7 separate regions of the Homo sapiens genome follow, and all the other regions are linked to region 4. The links are contacts of gene promoters, found by promoter capture Hi-C in human tissues and cell types (Jung and others, 2019). All regions are on one chromosome and are shown on one strand. The core of a region is centred on a gene start or on the middle of the fragment in contact, and the rest is flanking DNA. Distances in the headings are between cores, read along the strand shown. Region 1 has its middle 18 kb from the start of ZNF252P-AS1. Region 2 overlaps ARHGAP39 (Rho GTPase activating protein 39). Region 3 has its middle 20 kb from the start of C8orf33. Region 4 holds the start of ZNF7 (zinc finger protein 7). Region 5 overlaps ARHGAP39 (Rho GTPase activating protein 39). Region 6 has its middle 22 kb from the start of ZNF252P-AS1. Region 7 holds the start of C8orf33 (chromosome 8 open reading frame 33).

What was found. The method cuts DNA at HindIII sites, captures the fragments that hold promoters and counts their contacts. A contact is called where the count stands out against the background at its distance.
Region 1: a fragment that was not itself captured here is called in contact with the fragment with the promoter of ZNF7 in region 4 in 8 of the 25 tissues and cell types used here (H1 embryonic stem cells, dorsolateral prefrontal cortex, lymphoblastoid cells and 5 more).
Region 2: a fragment that was not itself captured here is called in contact with the fragment with the promoter of ZNF7 in region 4 in 3 of the 25 tissues and cell types used here (dorsolateral prefrontal cortex, mesenchymal stem cells and spleen).
Region 3: a contact is called between a fragment that was not itself captured here and the fragment with the promoter of ZNF7 in region 4, in 3 of the 25 tissues and cell types used here (mesenchymal stem cells, mesendoderm cells and spleen).
Region 5: a contact is called between a fragment that was not itself captured here and the fragment with the promoter of ZNF7 in region 4, in 2 of the 25 tissues and cell types used here (dorsolateral prefrontal cortex and spleen).
Region 6: a fragment that was not itself captured here is called in contact with the fragment with the promoter of ZNF7 in region 4 in 6 of the 25 tissues and cell types used here (H1 embryonic stem cells, IMR-90 fibroblasts, dorsolateral prefrontal cortex and 3 more).
Region 7: the fragment with the promoter of C8orf33 here is called in contact with the fragment with the promoter of ZNF7 in region 4 in 4 of the 25 tissues and cell types used here (dorsolateral prefrontal cortex, heart right ventricle, lymphoblastoid cells and 1 more).

Annotation. Positions count from the first base shown.
Region 1 is chr8:145,018,981-145,021,680 of GRCh38, reverse strand. No RefSeq gene overlaps it. Among named protein-coding and RNA genes, the nearest start is that of ZNF252P-AS1, 18 kb to the right of the region's middle. The HindIII fragment of the contact is 6,395 bases long and covers 1-2,700 here.
Region 2 is chr8:144,578,908-144,581,607 of GRCh38, reverse strand. It overlaps ARHGAP39 (Rho GTPase activating protein 39), which reads left to right. Exons shown (of 12, transcript NM_025251.3): 3 at 331-762. Among named protein-coding and RNA genes, the nearest start is that of C8orf82, 51 kb to the right of the region's middle. The HindIII fragment of the contact is 7,795 bases long and covers 1-2,700 here.
Region 3 is chr8:145,071,394-145,074,093 of GRCh38, reverse strand. No RefSeq gene overlaps it. Among named protein-coding and RNA genes, the nearest start is that of C8orf33, 20 kb to the right of the region's middle. The HindIII fragment of the contact is 6,005 bases long and covers 1-2,700 here.
Region 4 is chr8:144,826,122-144,828,821 of GRCh38, reverse strand. It overlaps ZNF7 (zinc finger protein 7), which reads right to left and starts at 1,262. Exons shown (of 5, transcript NM_003416.4): 1 at 1,213-1,262. LOC100130027 (a long non-coding RNA gene) reads left to right here and starts at 1,782. Exons shown (of 5, transcript NR_147501.1): 1 at 1,782-2,700. RefSeq lists enhancers at 33-558, 559-1,084, 1,085-1,610 and a silencer at 942-2,071. The HindIII fragment of the contact is 13,991 bases long and covers 1-2,700 here.
Region 5 is chr8:144,638,871-144,641,570 of GRCh38, reverse strand. The region is part of intron 1 of ARHGAP39 (Rho GTPase activating protein 39); the gene reads left to right. Among named protein-coding and RNA genes, the nearest start is that of ARHGAP39, 46 kb to the left of the region's middle. The HindIII fragment of the contact is 3,705 bases long and covers 1-2,700 here.
Region 6 is chr8:144,979,355-144,982,054 of GRCh38, reverse strand. It overlaps the pseudogene ZNF252P. Among named protein-coding and RNA genes, the nearest start is that of ZNF252P-AS1, 22 kb to the left of the region's middle. The HindIII fragment of the contact is 4,345 bases long and covers 1-2,700 here.
Region 7 is chr8:145,051,215-145,053,914 of GRCh38, reverse strand. It overlaps C8orf33 (chromosome 8 open reading frame 33), which reads right to left and starts at 1,448. Exons shown (of 5, transcript NM_023080.3): 1 at 1,418-1,448; 2 at 1,018-1,329; 3 at 769-853; 4 at 472-618. The coding sequence starts at 1,423. RefSeq lists enhancers at 74-874, 1,803-1,852, 1,893-2,022 and a silencer at 1,523-1,592. The HindIII fragment of the contact is 15,142 bases long and covers 1-2,700 here.

The DNA of each region.
Region 1 (2,700 bases), core at 91-2,590, 190 kb before region 4:
GGAGAAAAACCGCCCTATGGTGGGAGGTGAGACATGTTGGCAGCAATGCTGCCTTGTTATTCTTTACTCCACTGAGATGTTTGGGTGGAGAGAAACATAAATCTGGCCTATGTGCACATCCAGGCATAGTACTTTCCCTTGAACTTAATTATGACATAGATTCCTTTGCTCACATGCTTTTTGCTGACCTTCTCCTTATTATCACCCTGCTCTCCTACTACATTCCTTTCTGCTGAAATCATGAAAATAATAATCAATAAAAACTGAGGGAACTCAGAGACCGGTGCCGGTGCAGGTCCTTGGTGTGCCGAGTGCCGCTCTCCTGGGCCCACTGTTGTTTCTCTATACTTTGTCACTGTGTCTTATTTCTTTTCTCAGTCTCCCATCCCACCTGACTAGAAATACCCACAGGTGTGGAGGGGCAGGCCACCCCTTCAGATTATCAAGAACTCCAATGAAGCCAGCTAAATCTATTTGCCAATTGACTGAATTAACAAAGGCTTTCCAAATCTGATTTTTATTCATTGGAACTATAATCTTATCTGGATCTGAGCCACAAAGTTTAACAACTCTAAGGTGAGCTTGCCCAATCAAGATTGCCATCTGATCCAAGTATACTGTGAGTGTTCTAACAGTATTGTGAGGCAGAAAAGACCATTCAACTAAGTCCTCACTCTGAACTGTAACCCCTGTAGAAGAATGGAGAGTAGGGAACACAATGAACTGTAATGGTAAATTTGAGTCTATTCTATTAACCTGGGCCTGTTGTATTTTTTCTTCAATCATTTGTAATTCTTTGGCAGTCTCAGGAGTCAGTTCTCATTTACTATTGAGAGCAGGGTCACCTCTTAAAATAGAGAACAGATTAGACATAGCATAGGTAGGGATTCCCAAAGGAGGTCAAATCCAATTGATATCCCCTAATAATTTTTGAAAATCATTTAAAGTTTTCAGAGAGTCTTTTTGAATTTGAACCTCTTGGGGTCTAATTGCCCTTTCCTGATCCTGCATTCCCAAATATTGGAAAGGAGTGGATGTTTGAATTTTATCTGGTGCTATGAGCAATCCAGCATTGGCTACCACCTCCTGTAAATATGAATAACACTGGATAAGTCAGTCTTAACTTTTGACCGTACCCAATATGTCATCCATAAAATGAATGATATATGAATCAGGAAACTGATCTCTCACAGGTGGAATAGCCTTCCCCACAAAAGTTTGACAAATAGTAGGACTATTCAACATATCCTGCAGCAGGACTTTCCAATGATATCTGGCTGCTGGTTCCTTGTTGTTCATAGCAGGAATAGTAAAAGCAAATTTCACAAAATCAGACTCTGCTAGAAGAATATTTAAAAAGCAATCCTTCAAATCTATAATTACTAATGGCCAGTCTCTAGGAATCATGGTGGGGGATAGAAGCCCCAGCTGCAGGGCCCCAATCAGCTGAATGAATGTGTTCACCACACGTAAGTCGGTTAGCATGCGCCATCTGCTGGATTTTTTCTTTATTACAAACACCGGCAAATTCTATGGAGAAAATGTGGGCTCAATGCTTCCTTTGTTTAATTGCTCTTTGACTAATTCCTGTAAGGCCCCCAATTTTTCCTGAGTAAGTGGCCACAGCTCAACCCAAACAGGATTTTGGGTCTTCCATTTTAAGGGAATAGGACTTGGAGGCTCAACAGTGACCACCCCTAAAAATGGTAACCTACATGGGAGGTTCCAAGATGGCCAAATAGGAACAGTTCCAGTCTAGAGCTCCCAGCATGAGCGATGCAGAAGACAGGTGATTTCTGCATTTCCAACTGAAATACCAGGTTCATCTCACTGGAGCTTGTCAGACAGTGGGTGCAGGACAGTGGGTGCAGCCCACCGAGTGAGACCTGAAGCAGGGCAAGGCACCACCTCACCTGGGAAGTGCAAGGGGTCAGGGAATTCCCTTTCCTAGCCAAGGGAAGCTGTGACAGATGGCACCTGGAAAATCGGGTCACTCCCACCCTAATACTGTGCTGTTCCAATGGTCTTAGCAAATGGCACACCAGGAGATTATTTCCTACACCTGGCTTGGAGGGTCCCACACCCATGGAGCCTTGCTCATTGCTAGCACAGCAGTCTGAGATCGAACTGCAAGGTGGCAGCAAGGCTGGGGGAGGGGCGCCCACCATTGCTGAGACTTCAGTAGGTAAACAAAGCGGCTGGGAAGCTTGAACTGGATGGAGCCCACTGCAGCTCAAGGAGGCCTACCAGCCTCTGCAGACTCCACCTCTGGGTGCAGGGCATAGCTGAACAAAAGGCAGCAGAATCTTCTGCAGACTTAAATGTCCCTGTCTGACAGCTTTGAAGAGAGTAGTGGTTCTCCCAGCATGGAGTTTGAGATCTGAGAACAAACAGACTGCCTCCTCAAGTGGCTCCCTGACACCTGAGTACCCTAACTGGGAGGCACCTCCCAGTAGGGGCTGACTGATACCTCACACGGCCGGGTACCCCTCTGAGATGAAGCTTCCAGAGGAATGATCAGGCAGCAACATTTGCTATTCTGCAATATTCGCTATTCTGTAGCCTCTACTGGTCATATCCAGGCAAACAGGATCTAGAGTGGACCTCCAGCAAACTCCAACAGACCTGCAGCTGAGGGTTCTGACTATTAGAAGGAAAACTAACAAACAAAAAGTACATCCACACCAAAACCCCATCTGT
Region 2 (2,700 bases), core at 13-2,512, 250 kb after region 4:
TGCAGGACGGAGCAGTGGGCAGTGAGGTTGTGGCCTGGGTGCCTGTGAGGACAGGAGCCTGCAACCACAGCCAGTATGTCCCTACCCCACGTGGGGCCCAGGACCCCCCAAAGGGCTGCACCACCCTGAGGCGCTGGCGGCTCCGGGGGCTTCCCCGGTTGCGGGTGCTCAGGAGCACAGCAGTCAGGGGCGGACTGGGCTTGGGTTTGCTTTCCTCTATGACAGGATTTCTGGGTTTCGCAGCTGGGGCTGGAGCCGGGGTCTGCAGGGGTGGGAGGCGCGGGCCCAGGCCGCCGTGGCTCCAGCCGCCTTAACCCTGTCTCTCCCCAGGTTGGAGTGGGTGGAGATCATCGAACCGCGCACCCGCGAGCGCATGTACGCCAACCTGGTCACCGGTGAGTGCGTGTGGGACCCGCCGGCCGGCGTCCGCATCAAGCGCACCAGCGAGAACCAGTGGTGGGAGCTGTTCGACCCCAACACGTCCCGCTTCTACTACTACAATGCCAGCACGCAGCGCACGGTGTGGCACCGGCCGCAGGGCTGCGACATCATCCCGCTGGCCAAGCTGCAGACGCTGAAGCAGAACACGGAGTCCCCGCGCGCCTCGGCGGAGAGCAGCCCCGGGCGCGGCAGCAGCGTCAGCCGTGAGGGCAGCACCAGCTCCTCCCTGGAGCCCGAGCCCGACACTGAGAAAGCGCAGGAGTTGCCAGCGAGGGCCGGGCGGCCCGCGGCGTTTGGGACAGTGAAGGAGGACAGCGGCAGGTGAGGGCGGGGGCAGCTGCTATGGGCGGGGCCAGGTGAATGGAGTGGGCGGGGCCAGGTGAGGCAGGTAGGGGGTGGTGGGCGGGGCCAGGTGAGAGCGGGACTGGTGAAGGTGGTGGGCGGGGCCAGGTTAGGAGTAGGTCGGGTATGGTGGGCGGGGCCAGGTGAGTGGAATGGGCGGGGCCACGTGAGAGCGGGACTGGTGACGGTGGTGGGCGGGGCCAGGTGAGGAGTAGGTCAGGTATGGTGGGCAGGGCCAGGTGAGGGCGGTGGGCGGGGACCCAGGGGACTCAGTGTCCCCGCGAGTGGCCAGAGCCTCGTCCTTGGCTGTAGCAGCCACCGCTGCTGTCCCCAGTGAGCACTTTCTTGTCTCTCTGGGCAGCAGAGCCTGGCGCTCAGCCTCAGAGGGTTCTGGGTCCTCCAACCCTGCCCCTCACTGGCCCAGCCCCTGGCAGGTGGTGGTTCCTGAGAGCAGTGTCTGAGGGGCTCGCCCAGCTCTCTCTGCTGATGGGAGATGCAGATGTGGGGATTTGCGTGCGGGCGTGGGGTGTGTGGACCTAGGGGGACCCAGGTGGAGGGTGTAGATCAGTGTGGACACAGCTGAGGGGTCTGAGCAGGCTTGGAGGTGGTCCTCTGGAGTCACAGTGGCTCCGAAGGAGCACAGCCTGTGTTGGTGGGAGCCCAGGAGACCCCTGCCCTCAGAAACAGGGAGAGGTCAGGGTAGAGCGCAAGGGCCTCGAGGTGAGTGCACCGTGGGAAGCGAGTCCAGAGAGGACGGTGGGGAAGAGCCGAGGCAGGCGGGCAGGACAGTGGGGAAGGGCTGAGGCAGGCGGCAGGCCAGCAGGACAGTGGGGAAGAGCCGAGGCAGGGACAGGAGGCTGGGGCTTCCCAGAGCCCAGGCTGTGGCCCAGGGCAGACAGGCCTGGCCACTGCAGGGGCGGATGGAGGCCACTCTGGAGAGGATGGAGGAGAGGCTGGACCCCAGGGAGAGAAAGGCAGGGGATTGGTCTCCCCCAGTACCAGATTTTCGGTGCTTGGCTGAGGTTGCCAGGGGAGCTGAGGCCCAGGGGCTTTCTGCAGAGGTGGGAAGGAGCGTGTTGGACTGCCGGGCTCATCTGAGGCTTCAGAAGAGGGATTCAGAGTGAACCACAGAGCTCAGAGGACAGCAGGCTTCCGTCCCACCGTGCCGAGGTGCAGGCACAGAGGGAGGCGGGCAGCAGGTTCATCCCGTGGACCCGGTCTGGCAGGATGAAAGGGAGGCCAGGGATGGGGCCTGCTGCAGAGTGGGCAGGAGGTGGGGCAAATCAGGTGTGGAGGAGCCACTGGAGCACACCGGGAAGACGGTGTTGGTGTCGGTATTCAGGGCAGGGTGAGCAGCGGAGGCTCGGGCGTGGCGTGGGTGAGCGAGCGGTGCAGAAGGCGGGCACAAAGAGGACCAGGGCCTACATTTCACATCCCACCAGCAAATATGAGGGTTCAAAGTTATCCACGGCCTTGCCAACACTACTTGCTTTCCTTTTTAGATTTCTTTTAGCTATTGTAGCCACTGTGAAATGTCTCATTGTAGTTTTGGTTTGCATTTCCTTAATGACTAATGACTTTGAGCCTTTTTTCACTTTCTTTTTTTTTTTTTTTTTTTTTTTTGAGACAGAGTCTCGCTCTGTCGCCCAGGCTGGAGTGCAGTGGCACGATTGCTGCTCACTGCAAGTTCCGCCTCCCGGGTTCACACCACTCTCCTGCCTCAGCCTCCCGAGTAGCTGGGACTACAGGCACCTGCCACCACGCCCAGCTAATTTTTTGTGTTTTTAGTAGAAACAGGGTTTCACCATGTTAGCCAGGATGGTCTTGATCTCCTGACCTCGTGATCCACCCACCTCCCAAAGTGCTGGGATTACAGGCATGAGCCACCACGCCTGGCCCCTTTTTTCACTTTCTTGA
Region 3 (2,700 bases), core at 64-2,563, 250 kb before region 4:
AGGAATACAGCTAACAAGCGAAGTGAAGAACCTCTTCAAGGAGGACTACAAACCACTGCCCAGAGAAATCAGATAGGACACAAATAAATGGAGAAGCATTCCATGCTCATGGATAGGGAAGAATTAATTCATGAAAATGGCCGTACTGCCCAAAGTAATTTATAGAAGAATTCAATGCTATTCCCATTAAACTACCAATGACATTCTTCACAGAATTAGAAGAAACTATTTTACAATTCTCATGAAGCAAAAAAGAGCCCAAATAGCCAAGACAATTCTAAGCAAAAAGAACAAAGCTGGAGGCATCACACTACCCAACTTCAAACTATACTATAAGGCTACAGTAACCAAAACAGCATGGTACTGGTACAAAAACAGACACATAGACCAATGAAACAGAATACAGAACTCTGAAATAAGACCATACACATACAACCATCTGATCTTTGACAAACCTGACAAACACAAGCAATGGGAAAGGATTCCTTATTTAATAAATCATGTTGGGAAAACTGGCTAGCCATATGCAGAAAACTGAAACTGGACATCTTCCTTACACCTTATACAAAAAAAATAACTCAAGATGGAATAAAGACTTAAACATAAGACCTAAAACCATAAAAACCCTGGAAGAAACCTTGGCAATACCATTCAGGACATAGGCATGGGCAAAGACTTTATGACTAAAACACCAAAAGCAACGGCAACAGAAGCCAAAATTGACAAATGGGATCTAATTAAACTAAAGAGCTTCTGGACAGCAAAATAAACTCATCAGAGTGAACAGACAACCTACAGACTGGGAGAAAATTTTTGCAATCTGTCTGACAAAGGGCTAATATCCAGAATCTACAAAGAACTTAAACAAATTTACAAGAAAAAAACAACCCCATCAAAAAGTGGCCAAAGGAAAAGAACAGATGCTTCTCAAAAGAAGACATTTATGTGGCCAAAAAACATATTGAAAAAAGCTCATCATCACTGGTCATTAGATAAATGCAAATCAAAACCACAATGAGATACCATCTCACACCAGTTAGAATGGCCATTATTAAAAAGTCAGGAAACAACAGATGCTGACGAGGCTGTGGAGAAATAGGAATGCTTTTACACTGTTGGTAGGAGTGTAAATTAGTTGGTAGGAGTGTAAATCCCATTATGGGGTATATACCCAAAGCATTATAAATTATTATACTATAAAGACACATGCACTGTATGTTTATTTCAGCACTCTTCACAATAGCAAAGACTTGGAACCAACCCAAATTCCCATCAATGATAAACTGGATAAAGAAAATGTGGCGCATATACACCATGGAATACTACGAATTTATGTCCTTTCCAGGGACATGGATGAAGCTGGAAACCATCATTCTCAGCAAACTAACACAAGAAAAGAAAACCAGACCAGGAGCAGTGGCTCATGCCTGTAGTCTCAGAACTTTGGGAGGCCGAGGTGGGCAGATCATCTGAGGTGGGGAGCTTGAGACCAGCCTGACCAACATGGAGAAACCCCGTCTTTACTAAAAATACACACAATTAGCCAGGCATGTTGGCACATGCCTGTAATCCTAGCTACTTGGGAGGCTGAGGCAGGAGAGTCGCTTGAACCCGGGAGGCAGAGGTTGCGGTAACCCAAGATCATGCCATTGCACTCCAACCTGGGCAACAAGAGTGAAATTTTGTCTCAAAAAAAAAAAAAGAAAGAAAAAGAAGAAAAGAAAACCAAACACTGCATGTTCTCACTTATAAGTGGGAGTTGAGCAAAGAGAACACATGGACACAGGGAGGGGAACATCACACACTGGGGCCTGTCGGGGGGTGGGAGGCTGGGGGAGGAATAGCATTAGGAGAAATACCTAATGTAGATGACGGGTTGATGGGTGCAGCAAACACCATGGCACGTGTATACCTATGTAACAAACCTGCATGCTCTGCCCATGTATCCCAGAACTTAAAGTACAACAAAGAAAATGTCACATAAATGCATAAAGTCTAGAACAGCTAATAAATTATAATGAAATGTCAACTATAATTCCAGCTCAAAGAGAACACCATGAAACCGTCTGAAACCTGGGAGGCAAGACCAAGCCCAGACAACCCTTGCAGAGTGACCCTGAAGAAGACGACAAGCCCTGCTCCAGTCACACCCGGAAGCTGACTGGTCCACGCACGGCCGAAGCATGAGGAAGCTCATCGTGGGATTCATTTTTCTTAAATTTTGGACTTACACAGTAAGGGCTTCAATTGACCTTACTCAAACTGGGGACTGTTCCCAGAGTATTCATCAGGTCACCGAGGTAGGACAGCAAATTAAAACAAACTTTCTGTTCTATAGTTATTATGAATGTATGGGAACATTAAAAGAAACTTGTTTGTATAATGCCACTCAGTACAAGGTATGTAGCCCAGGAAATGACCGACCCGATGTGTGTTATAACCCATCTGAGCCCCCTGCAACCACCGTTTTTGAAATAAGATTAAGAACTGGCCTTTTCCTAGGTGACACAAGTAAAATAATAACTAGAACAGTAGAAAAAGGAAGCCCCAAACAAATAACTTTAAGATTTGATGCTCGTGCAGCCATTAATAGTAACAAGTTAGGAACACGATGTGGTTCTCTTAACTGGGAAAGGAGCTACAGAGTACAAAATAAATATGTTTGTCATGAGTCAGGGGTTTGTGAAAATTGTGCCTTTT
Region 4 (2,700 bases), core at 13-2,512:
TCCACAAAGCCGTAAGAAGTGGATGCCACGTGCCAGGCACTGAGTAATGGGGATACAGTAGTGGACACGAGGACCCTGCCTTCACGAAGCAGTCTGGCGGAGGAAAGAGTTAAATAACCACACAAATAAGCACACTGCAACCACGACAGCGCTCAAGTACAGGGAACTATGAAAGCCACTTAGACTAGAACGTTCAGTGTAATGGGTCACTTCCCCAGGGACCTCGGCCAAGGTAATGGAGGTGGAGAGAGCACTCCAGGCAGCAGGAATAGCATGTGAAAGGGCCTGAAGCAAGAAGAAATGGGGTTGGATGAACCAGTGTGGGTAAATTCCCGGCAGCAAGGGAAGGCAGTGAGCGACTGGAGGTTGGGGAAGGCAGTGAGCGACTGGAGGTTGGAGAAGGCAGGAGCAAAAATGACAAACTGTAGGGAAGACAAGAGTGGACATGGAAACCCCTGCCCTCAAGTACATAAATTCCAGTCTCCAGCTCACCTGTCGCCAGGATGGAACCAGGCACAGGGATGTAATCTGATATAAATCGTTCACCTCAATTAAGCCAATGACCCCAGACCCTCTACCTGCCCAGGCATTCCCCCGGGAGGTCGGAATGGGAAAAAGAGTCTTCGTATGGCAGCTTCTGGCCCAGAAAGTGGTTTGTGGGTGGAAGCCCCAGGTCACCGGCACAGGTAGGCTGATCCCCCCACCTGGCTCCTGACAGTAGGAATGCCCGGAATAGCAACCAGAATTTAGAGAAGACAAACAGCCTACCCCACCCAAGGCACCGTTCCTTCCTCCACTGTCACTTATCCTAGGCCTTCCGGGGCAATAAATAGAAAGAGAAAAGGCTCTAGAAGGAGGTGATTTCGCAGGAGGAGTCAGGGCCCCGGGAGTAGACCCAGGCCTGAAGAAAAGGCCGCAGCTGGAGCTCGCCTTACTCAGGCCCCGGACACCGTGGCCGCCACGAGCGGGGTCTGCGGGGAGCTGCGAGACTCGGCCAAACGAAGCCCACCTCGCGCCGCCGCGGGGGAGGGTGGCTGGGCTCGACCACCTCCCACACCAGGCGCTCAAGGCCCCGCAAAGCCCCCGCGCTTTCCCGCCTGGAGGCCCGGGGGACGCGGGGACCCCAATGCCGAAGGCGGGAGGGCTAAGGAAGCGACCAGGGATCACTCGGACCGAGGGCAACCCGAGTCCGCGCCCGCCGCGCCGACTCACCCTCCCTGAGGACCACCCGAGGCTCGCAAACGCGCGACGCCGCCGGAAACGGGCCTTGGCCACCCGCGTCCGCCCCGCCCCGCAAACTTCCGGCCGCCCTGGGCCGCTCGGAGGCCCGGCCATCTCTGTGGTTCTCAGCCCCGCCTCCCAGGCTCCGGAGAAGGGGTGGAGTCAGAGCCGAGGAGGGGCGAGGCTGGGGCCCGAGGGACAAGAACCTGGGCGGGACCAGAAGCCCAGATAGGCGGGGCTGGCGCCTGGGGGCGGGGTACAGTCAGAGGCGGGCAGGGGGCGGAGCCGCGAGGGAGAGGAGGGCCCAGAGCCCGGAGTGGGCGGTGCCTGAGCAGGGGCGGGGCGGGGCCGGGGCCTGGAGCTGGGGACGCGGGCCGGGGCCGGGAGTTGCGGACTCGCTGGCGGGTGGGAGGAGCGGAGTCGGGGCGAGGCTGGCGGAGATCCAGGGGATCGCCCGGTTGGGCCCTGCGCACCCCGGATCACCAGCTTCGGGCGCTGGTTCCCACCGAGGCTGTTCAGGCGCCGCTCCCCCGCGTCCCTGCGACAGGAGGCGCCTGCTGGGCGCGCTATGGACCCCGCCTCGCGGAGACGCCTGGCTCGGGCCTTGTCCCCAGTGAGCGGCTGGAGCGGCCGCGGGGTCGCAGAGCCTCCGGGACCCCGAGGAAGGGCGCCCCTCGGAGTTGCCCGAGGCCGGGCCCGGCGTCCACTCGCCACTCGCCTCGCCCCTCCCCGGCCCCGCACCGCCCTCCACCCCGCCTCCTTCGGGTTCCTTCTGCGTCCGGCAGAGCCTGCGCGCCTCCCCCGGACGGCCACGGACTCGCAGCCTCGGCGAGGACGCTGCCTGCGTCCCGACTGCCTGGACCTCCCCGCGTGGCTCCCGGCGAAGCCCAGCAGCCGGAGGGTGCCAGGTCCGCCTGACGCGCCCCTCCCCACGGGAAGAACGGGGCGGGGGTCCAGGAGGGACGTAAGCCGGGCTCCCCCGGCGTGTTGATCCGAACCCGCGCGGGAAAACTTGCGCAAACCAAAGGAGGGAAGAGTCAGGCAGCCCCCAGCCCCCCAGGGAGGCCCAGGTGAAAAACAGACGCCGGCCTCGCCTCTCCCGGTGCGGATGATCCCGGCACTCCCACCCCCGCCCCTGCTGCCCCGAGTTCGGCTCCCTCAGCCCCACATCCTCTCTGGTCATCTAAGTGGACTGCAGCTGCTCAGGGAGCATGTCGCGAAGGATAGGGAAGGACAGGGGGTCTGCTTCCCCAGCCGCCCTCCAGACCCCCAGGGCTGGTAGGGGCCGGCAACCCTATGCCCCAACCTGGCCTGCTGCAGGTGAGGGGGGCACACCAGGGTAACACAGGAGCAGGAGGGGGAGAAAGCCTGGCTAGAGCATCCACCTCATAGGCACCTTCCTTGTGTCCAGGGTGCAGATGCCAGGGCTCTGAGGCCCTGAGGTCCTGTCTGGGGCGAGGGGGCTTCCTCCATCCACTG
Region 5 (2,700 bases), core at 70-2,569, 190 kb after region 4:
AGTGATGGGCAGAACGCAGGAGAGCTGAGGGGATGCCAGGAGACAGGTCAGGTGGTGCTGCCAGGGCCCTGCCTGAGCTCCTGCCTCGGGAGTTGGCCACCTGGGCGCCACTGCATTCCTCCTCGATGTGAGCATGGTGGGGTCTTGGTGGTCAGCTTCGCTTTACCAGCCCATCATCTGCCTGCGTCTGCATCTCCATGTTGTCTCATTTCTGCTTGACAGATTGTAGCAGCCAGTTATACAACATAAAGAGTTAATTTTCATTCCATAAAGAATTTAATAGCGTCTGCCTCTCCTTTCCCGTCCTCTGGTGCCTTGAGGGCCAGAGACCGGTGCCCCAGGGTCCCAGATGTCATAGACTAGAACCTGAGAACCAGAAGCCGGTGTGGTCTTTCCCCCCGTGATCCTGTGGCAGAACAGGTGGATGGTGGATGAAAGCTTTCAGATGTCACCTCCTGGAACACCTCTGCAAGAACTGGTGCTGGGATGGGCCCAGGCAGATGAGAAATAAAAATATCTAGTTGAGTGTACATTTTATTATTGTAGGAAATAAGAAATAGAGTAATGTCTATATAGATGAAGAGTGGGACCCTCACAATGTTGATTTCTATGTACTAGGGTCTGATGAAATGAAAGCAACTAGAACAGAGCATTTAGCGAGGTTAAAACAGACAACTAACTGTGTGAATCGGAAAACGTGGCTTCGTTTTCAACAATGTTTCGTGGGACGCTTATCTAATACCTAATGGCTATTTATCGGGATTTAGAGAGGTTAAAACAGACAACTGTGTGAATCGAAAACTCGGCTTCGTTTTCAACAATGTTTTATGGGATGCTTATCTAATACCTAATGGGTATTTATCGGGAAAACACTTCTTTACTGCAGTGTTGTGACATTTTTTGTTGTTTCTGCTAAATCTACATTGAAGTGTTGCTTTGTAAGTGTGCTGTATTAGTCTGTTTTCAAGCTGCTGATAAAAACATACCTGAGACTGGGTAATTTATACAGGAAAAAGGGTTTAATGGACTTACACAGTTCCACATGGCTGGGGAGGCCTCACAATCATGGTGCAAGGCAAGGAGGAGCAAGTCACGTCTTACCTGGATGGCAGCAGGCAAAGAGGAGAGCTTGTGCAGGGAGACTCCCATTTTTAAAACCATCAGATCTCGTGAGACTCATTCACTATCACGAAAACAGCATGGGAAAGACCCACCCCTATGATTCAATTATCTCCCACCAGGTCGCTCCCCCAACATGTGGGAATTATGGGAGCTACAAAATGAGATTTGGGTGGGGACACAGAGCCAAACCACATCATGTGCCATGAAAACTGTCCCTGTCAGTCCCCCGTGTGCAACTGAGCCACGCGAGAGTCCAAAAACAGGTGGGTGCTTGTTTGAACGTGTTTGTGTTTAGCCAATCCCTGGTGTCATGGAGCTTCTAAAATAGCATAGATTACTCGATCTGGCTTTTGGCAGAAATGGTTTTCCATATTTTCTGCATGTCGCCTGTAATATATTCTACAGAGAGCAAGGGTAGTTCTTGCATCCGTAACCCATTCCTGAAAACCAGACGTCTTGCATGAAAATGCTGTCTTTTTCATGTTAAATAGGAAAAGCCAGTAAATTATTGTGTCAGTGCAACCAGTTTCCTAAGACAAAGCATCCGTGTAACAAACACCCTTTATACAAGAAACAGGCTATTGTGTGAGGATGTTAATGTTTTAAATGCGGCTTCCTGACACTGGACAGCCGAGGTGAAGCTTTCACTGTTGCTTTTCCCAGGGTGACATTGAGAGGCCTGTTTGTGTCAGCATCATCCACGCAGCACGTGCTCTGCTCACATCCACGTGTGTGATTGTGGCGTCTTCTACTTGTATCTGAAATGCAACTTGAGGATTTTTTTTTTCTCCCCTGCACTTCATTTTGTTAAAATGTTGGTTTTGTTTCTTGATGTAAATACAAAATTTACCGTGGCAACCATTGACAGGAATACGTATTGGAAGAATCATATGGTTTGTGAACTTATAAACTGTCAAAAATAAAAAGATGCTCTACCAAGAAATGTTGACCAGGAAGACATCTGTGCGGTGTGCCTGTAATATGGTTAATGTTAACAGATGATGATTTAAGAAGTTCTTTTTTTATATTTTGAAATAGTTTTTGTGATAGAAATGAAATTTAAATTAATTCAAAAATATTTCTTTTCTTTCTTTCTTTCTTTCTTTCTTTTTTTTTTTTTTTTGAGACAGCATCTCGCTCTGTCACCCAGGCTGGAGTGCAGTGGTGCGATCTCAGCTCACTGCAACCTCCACCTCCCGGGCTCAAGTGATTCTCCTGCCTCAGCCTCCCAAGTAGCGGGGACTCAGGCATGTACCACCATGCCCGGCTAATTTTTGTATTTTTAGTAGAGGTGGAGTTTCACCATGTTGGTCAGACTGGTCTCAAACTCCTGACCTCAAGTGATCTACCTGCCTCGGCCTCCCAAAGTGTCGGGATTACAGGCGTGAGCCACCGCTCCTGGCCCGTGCCGAAGGTAATTTTTAAAAAAAGCATACTGGCTTCCAGGTAAGGGTGGCAGAGTGAAAACAAATGCAGTGTCACTCTTTCCCAAGCCTTTGCTAAGTGAACAGCAAAGTGATGTTTTAAAAAGTCAGACTCACAGGGAATGGGTGAAGTGGGAGAGAAGACAGTAGTGAA
Region 6 (2,700 bases), core at 38-2,537, 150 kb before region 4:
CCACCTCCTTTGTGCTGTTGTCATATATAATACATTTTTACATCTTAAAGCCTAAACAATATAACTATATAAATTCGATTTATAAAATTGCTTTTTAAATTAATTAAGAGAGATGAAAAACATATATTTATACTTTCATATAATTAAAGAATTACCTTCATCTTTATTCTTTGTGTTTTGGGTGGGTTCTCATTTCTATCTGTGTTTACTTGCTTCCAACCTGAAGAATTTTCTTTGGTTTTTTTTTAAGGTGCATCTAGCAGCAATAAATTATGTTTATATTTATCTGGTAATGCTTTTATTTCATCTTCACTTTTGAAAGATAATTTGCTGGATAGAAACTTCTTTTTTCTTCTTCTTCTTTTTTAGAGACAGTCTCACTCTGTTGCCCAGGCTGGAGTACAGTGGCATGATCTCAGCTCACTGCAGCCTCCACCTCCTGGGTTCAAGTGATTCTCCTGCCTCAGCCTCCTGAGTAGCTGGGATTATAGGCATGCACCACCATACCCAGCTTTTTTTTTTAATAGAGGTGGGGTTTCACCATGTTTGCCAGGCTGGTCTCGAACTCCTGATCTCAGGTGATCCATCCACTTTGGCCTCCTGAATTGCTGGGATTATAGGTGTGAGCCAACATACTTGGCCAGGATAGAAAATTCTTGGTTGAGAGTCTTTTTCTTTCAGAACTTTGAATATGTTATCCACTGTCTTCTGACCTCCATTAGTTCTGATAAGAAGTCTGCTGTTTATCTTATTGGGGCACCCTTGTACATGATAAGTTGTTTTTCTCTTGCTTTCAAGATTTTCTCCTTGTCATTAACATTTAACGTTTTTACCATGATGTTTCTGAGTGTTGGTATCTTTGTGTTTATCCCATTTGGAGTTCTTTGGGCCTCTTGGATGTGCAGTTTAATGTTTTCCAGGAAATATCAGAAGTTTCCCACCATTATTAAAGTATTTCTTAAATTGTGGTAAAATTATATAACATGAGGATCAGTCTACATTCTTAAACACTTTTAAGTATACAATACAATAGCAAAATGCTGTAGAGCAGGTCTCTGGAACTTTCTCAAAACCTTGCATGACTGAAACCCTGTACCCACTGAATAGCAACTCCCCATTTCTCCCTCTCCCCAACCCCTGGCAACCAACCCCTGGCAACCACGATTGCACTTTTTGTTTCTATCAGTTTGACTATTTTAGATACTTCATTTAAGTGGAACTGTGCAGTATTCATCCTTCTATGATGTCTTATTTCACTTAGCATAATGTCCTCAGAGTTCATTTGTGTAGTTGCATAGGACAGGATTTTCTTCTACAATATTTTATGGCTGAATATTTCATCATATGGATATACCAGATTTTCTTTATACATCCATCTGTTGATGGACATCTAGGTTGTTTCCACCTCTTGGCTATTGTGAATAATGCTGCAGTGAACATGGGAGTGCAAACCTATCTTCAAGATTCTGATATTGGCTGGGTACGGTGGCTCACACCTGTAATCCCAACACTTTGGGAGGCCAAGGTGGGCAGATCATGAGGTCAAGAGATCAAGACCATCCTGGCCAACATGGTGAAATCCTGTCTCTACTAAAAATACAAAAATTAGCTGGGCATGGTGGCATGTGCCTGTAATCCCAGCTACTCAGGAGGCTGAGGCAGGAGGATCACTTGAACCCAGGAGGCAGAGGTTGTGGTGAGCCAAGATTGTGCCATTGCACTCCAGCCTGGGCAACAGGAGCAAAAAAACTCTGTCTCAAAAAAAAAAAAAAAGAAAGAAAGAAAGAAATTAAACACCGCCAACCAAGGATCACCAGATATCTGAGGGAAATGGCAATATGAACTTTAGTGTGAGATGTTGGTTCTTGTCTTATGGATGACTCTCTCTTATGGTTTCTCATTTTGTTCACATTTATTTTGTCTCCTCCCAGCAAAATAACACCTAATAGAATCATCTGTCAGACTTTAGTCCTGAGACTACCTTGAGGACTCAACTCCTCAGATACCTCAGAAATTTTTCTCCCTACATTCAGGATGTTTATCTTCTAGGACACTGTTTGTAGGTTTCTAGAGTAAATTATGAAGTTTGCTTTTTTCCTTTCATACTCTGAATGGCAAAATCAATCCCTCTGTAGTACCATGAGTAGTTCACAGAAATCTATTGCGATTACTTAGCTTTTTGTTTTATTTTATTTTATTTTATTATTTTATTTTATTTTATTTTATTTTTTGAGACAGAGTCTTGCTCTGTCACCCAGGCTGGACTGCAGTGGCACAATCTTGACTTACTGCAACCCCCACCTCCTGAGTTCAAGCTATTCTCCTGCCTCAGCCTCCCAAGTAGCTGGGATTAGAAGCACCCGCCACCATGCCCAGCTAAATTTTGTATTTTTAGTAGAGATGTGGTTTTGCCATGTTGGCCATGCTGGTCTAAAACTCCTGACCTCAGGTGATCCACCCGGTTTGGCCTCCCAAAGTGCTGGGATTACAAGCGTGATCCACCACACCCAGCCATACTTAACTCAATTTTAGGCCTCATCCAGTTAGTATTTTTAGCTCAGTCTCCCTGTTCAAGCAGTGCAGTCTCAAGGAGCATCCCATTATAACTAATGATAACCGCCATTTGCAAAAAGAAGATTCCATTGTCCTTTTGTGGTATCTCAACACAGGGCTGCCCTCTTACTGTTCTGACCTCAGTTA
Region 7 (2,700 bases), core at 199-2,698, 220 kb before region 4:
AACTGATTAATTCCTCAAATTTGTAAGGTTGATATTACTATCATCCCCCACTTAGAGAGGTTCAGTAGTTTGCAAAAGGTGTTAGTACTACTATGTGGTAGATCCAGGATTTGAACCTAGCTGATCTGGCCCCAGGAATTGCACTCAAACTGTTATGGGATATGGCTTCATTGCTAGTAGAGAAAGCCAAGACACAAAGACATGAGGCAGCTTTCCCCAACCCAGGAGCAGGACCAACATAGGACCATGCTCTTTCCCACTCCTCCCAGGGCCTCCCCGCTGCTTCCCAGGTTCAGTCCTAGGAAGAGGAAAGAGAGGTCCACGCTTTCTGTTTCCCTGCTCCCTCAGGCTTCCCTGAGCCCATCTCCTTCCCCCACCAGGCTTGTTGCTCTGGGCCTTCTTCCTTTCACCCCCTAGACACTTCCTCCTTAAGTTAGGCCTTCCTGAATCAACCAGTGGCTAGCTCCTCACCAGCTCTGAGAGCCCGCAGGGCCTCACGCCATTCGGCTTCCATCTGAGCCCTATAGTCTCCAAACAAGGAGTGCATCAGCTGCCTCTTCCGGGGCAAGGGCGTTCTTTTGCTGCGCAGGGTTCGGATTGCTCCAATAGCCTGCTCTTCTGCGAATAAAAATAAAGGACTAGTGAACACCTCTATTACTGACCTCCTACCACCCCGCCGCAAAGCCAACAACTCCATACTCTGCCAGCACCTGCAGGCCAGGCAGTGCCACTGTTCACATCCCCCAGCTCTACAGAAGGGTCCCTTACTCTGTTTCGGGGTGGGTTTCTGCCTCTTGAGGCCCAGCTCCAGTTGCTCCACACACCAAGCCAATTCCTGGGCCAACTGTTGTGCCTGTGATGGATTTGGGGAAGTGGCTGTGAGAGGGCACTGGAAAACCATAGCCGCCGGCCCCATCCCATGCCCCTCCCCGCCTTAACTCCGCGGACCCCAGATCACACGTGCCCGTGGATTCGCACCCGTGGATTCCACCCTTCCCGACCGAAGCCCGCCCTTGCCTGGGCCTCAGCGCTTAGGGGAACTTCTTCTGGGGCGAGTTTCTCTGAGGCCTTCTCGCCTCCATTTGCCACAGAGGCCCTGTTCCGCGTTTTCTTCTTATTCTTTTGTTTTTTCGACGCTGTGCCGCCTTCATCGCCCAACGGGTGCGCTCTGGAGTCAGCGTTACTGCACGTAGGTTGCTCTGGGCAGAGACAGACAGTGGAAGGATTCCGGGCGCTGGAAACTGGGCCGGGAAGCCGGGCTCCGCGGGACGCGCAGGGAGTACCCGGGCCTGGGGCCGCCGCTGCCTCCCCAGCAAGATGTCCCAGGGCCTGGAGAAAGGGGGGTAGCACGAGGGTCACCGAGAGCCGCCAACAATGCAAGGCCCAGCCACCCGCGCGTCTTCTCCACACCGCTCACCGCCATGCGCCGCAGTCGCCACCGGAACTACGCGGGGCGCAGAGTCCGACGCCGAATTCCGTCCTTCAAGAACGCGCCTGCGACTCTAGGTTCCGCGGGGCGCGGGCGGGGCGCGGGCGGGGCGCGGGCGGGGCGCGGGCGGGGCGCGGGCGGGGCGCGGGCGGGGCGCGGGCGGGGCGCGGGCGGGGCGCGGGCGGGGCGCGGGCGGGGCGGGGCGCGGGCGGGGCGCGGGCGGGGCGGGGAGCGGGCGGGGCGGGGCGCGGCTGGGGTGGGATGAAGCTGGGACGGGGCGAAGCTGGGACGCGCCTGGGACGAAGCTGAGATGGGGCTGGGGCGGGGCCTGGGGGTTCGGGGAAGAGGCTGAAGAGGGGTCTCGGAAGAACCCTTGTGAGCGAGTGATCGCGGGCGCTGACTACGTGCCCGGCACCTTTCCGGATAAAAGTTCAAAGCTCTCCACGAGGGTGTGTCTTCTCAAGGCTCACCTTTTGGTGGGGAGGGAAAAGCAAGTAAACAGCACGTGAGCAGCTACGGCGCAAGAGGGTGGTCGGCAAAGACCCTGGGAAATGGGGAAGAGCGAGGGTCAGGGCGCGGTCGTTTGAGAGGCCGGCGTCTCGGGACGTGGAGGCTCGGGTGAGGTCTGAGAGTTGGGAGGGCCCCCGTCATGGGCTTACTTCCGTTCTAACGCAGTGGGAAGTCGCTGCAAGATGTAAATCTGAAGAGTGGCATAATCGTAGACGTATGTTCTGCAGATCTCTCTGCTCTTGTGTAACGAGTGGGGCACATGGGGTGGAGGGACGTGGAGGGGTTTCAGAAGCAGACGCGGGAAGAGCCTTGGACAGGATATGGACGTGAGGGAGGGTGGCGGTATGGGGGAGAGGGAGAGCCCCATCCCACCACCTCTCTTCCCCTGGATGCTTCCCTCCCACTATACCTTGCTAGAGACCTGGGGTCACACACAACACTCGACCCCCGCCGATGGAGGCATGACAACCGAGAGGAATTGCGTAGGGGTTGAGGTGAGGCTGAGTAGGGTTTCAGGGGGGCAACGGGCTATGCCAGGAGGGTGGGTTGTGTTGCTTGAGAAGGTAAGAGTCCGAGATGTCTGATGATTCCTTTCGGGGACACAGGAGTGGAAAGCGGTGTTTCCTGAGACGGTGGGGTGGGAAGTGTTAGCTGCCTGGTCTGCAAGGTCTCGAAGGGTTACAGTTTGGTCATCACTGATAGTTATTTACTGCAGTGTGATACATTACTCCCAAAATTCGGCGGATTGGCCGGGCGCGGTG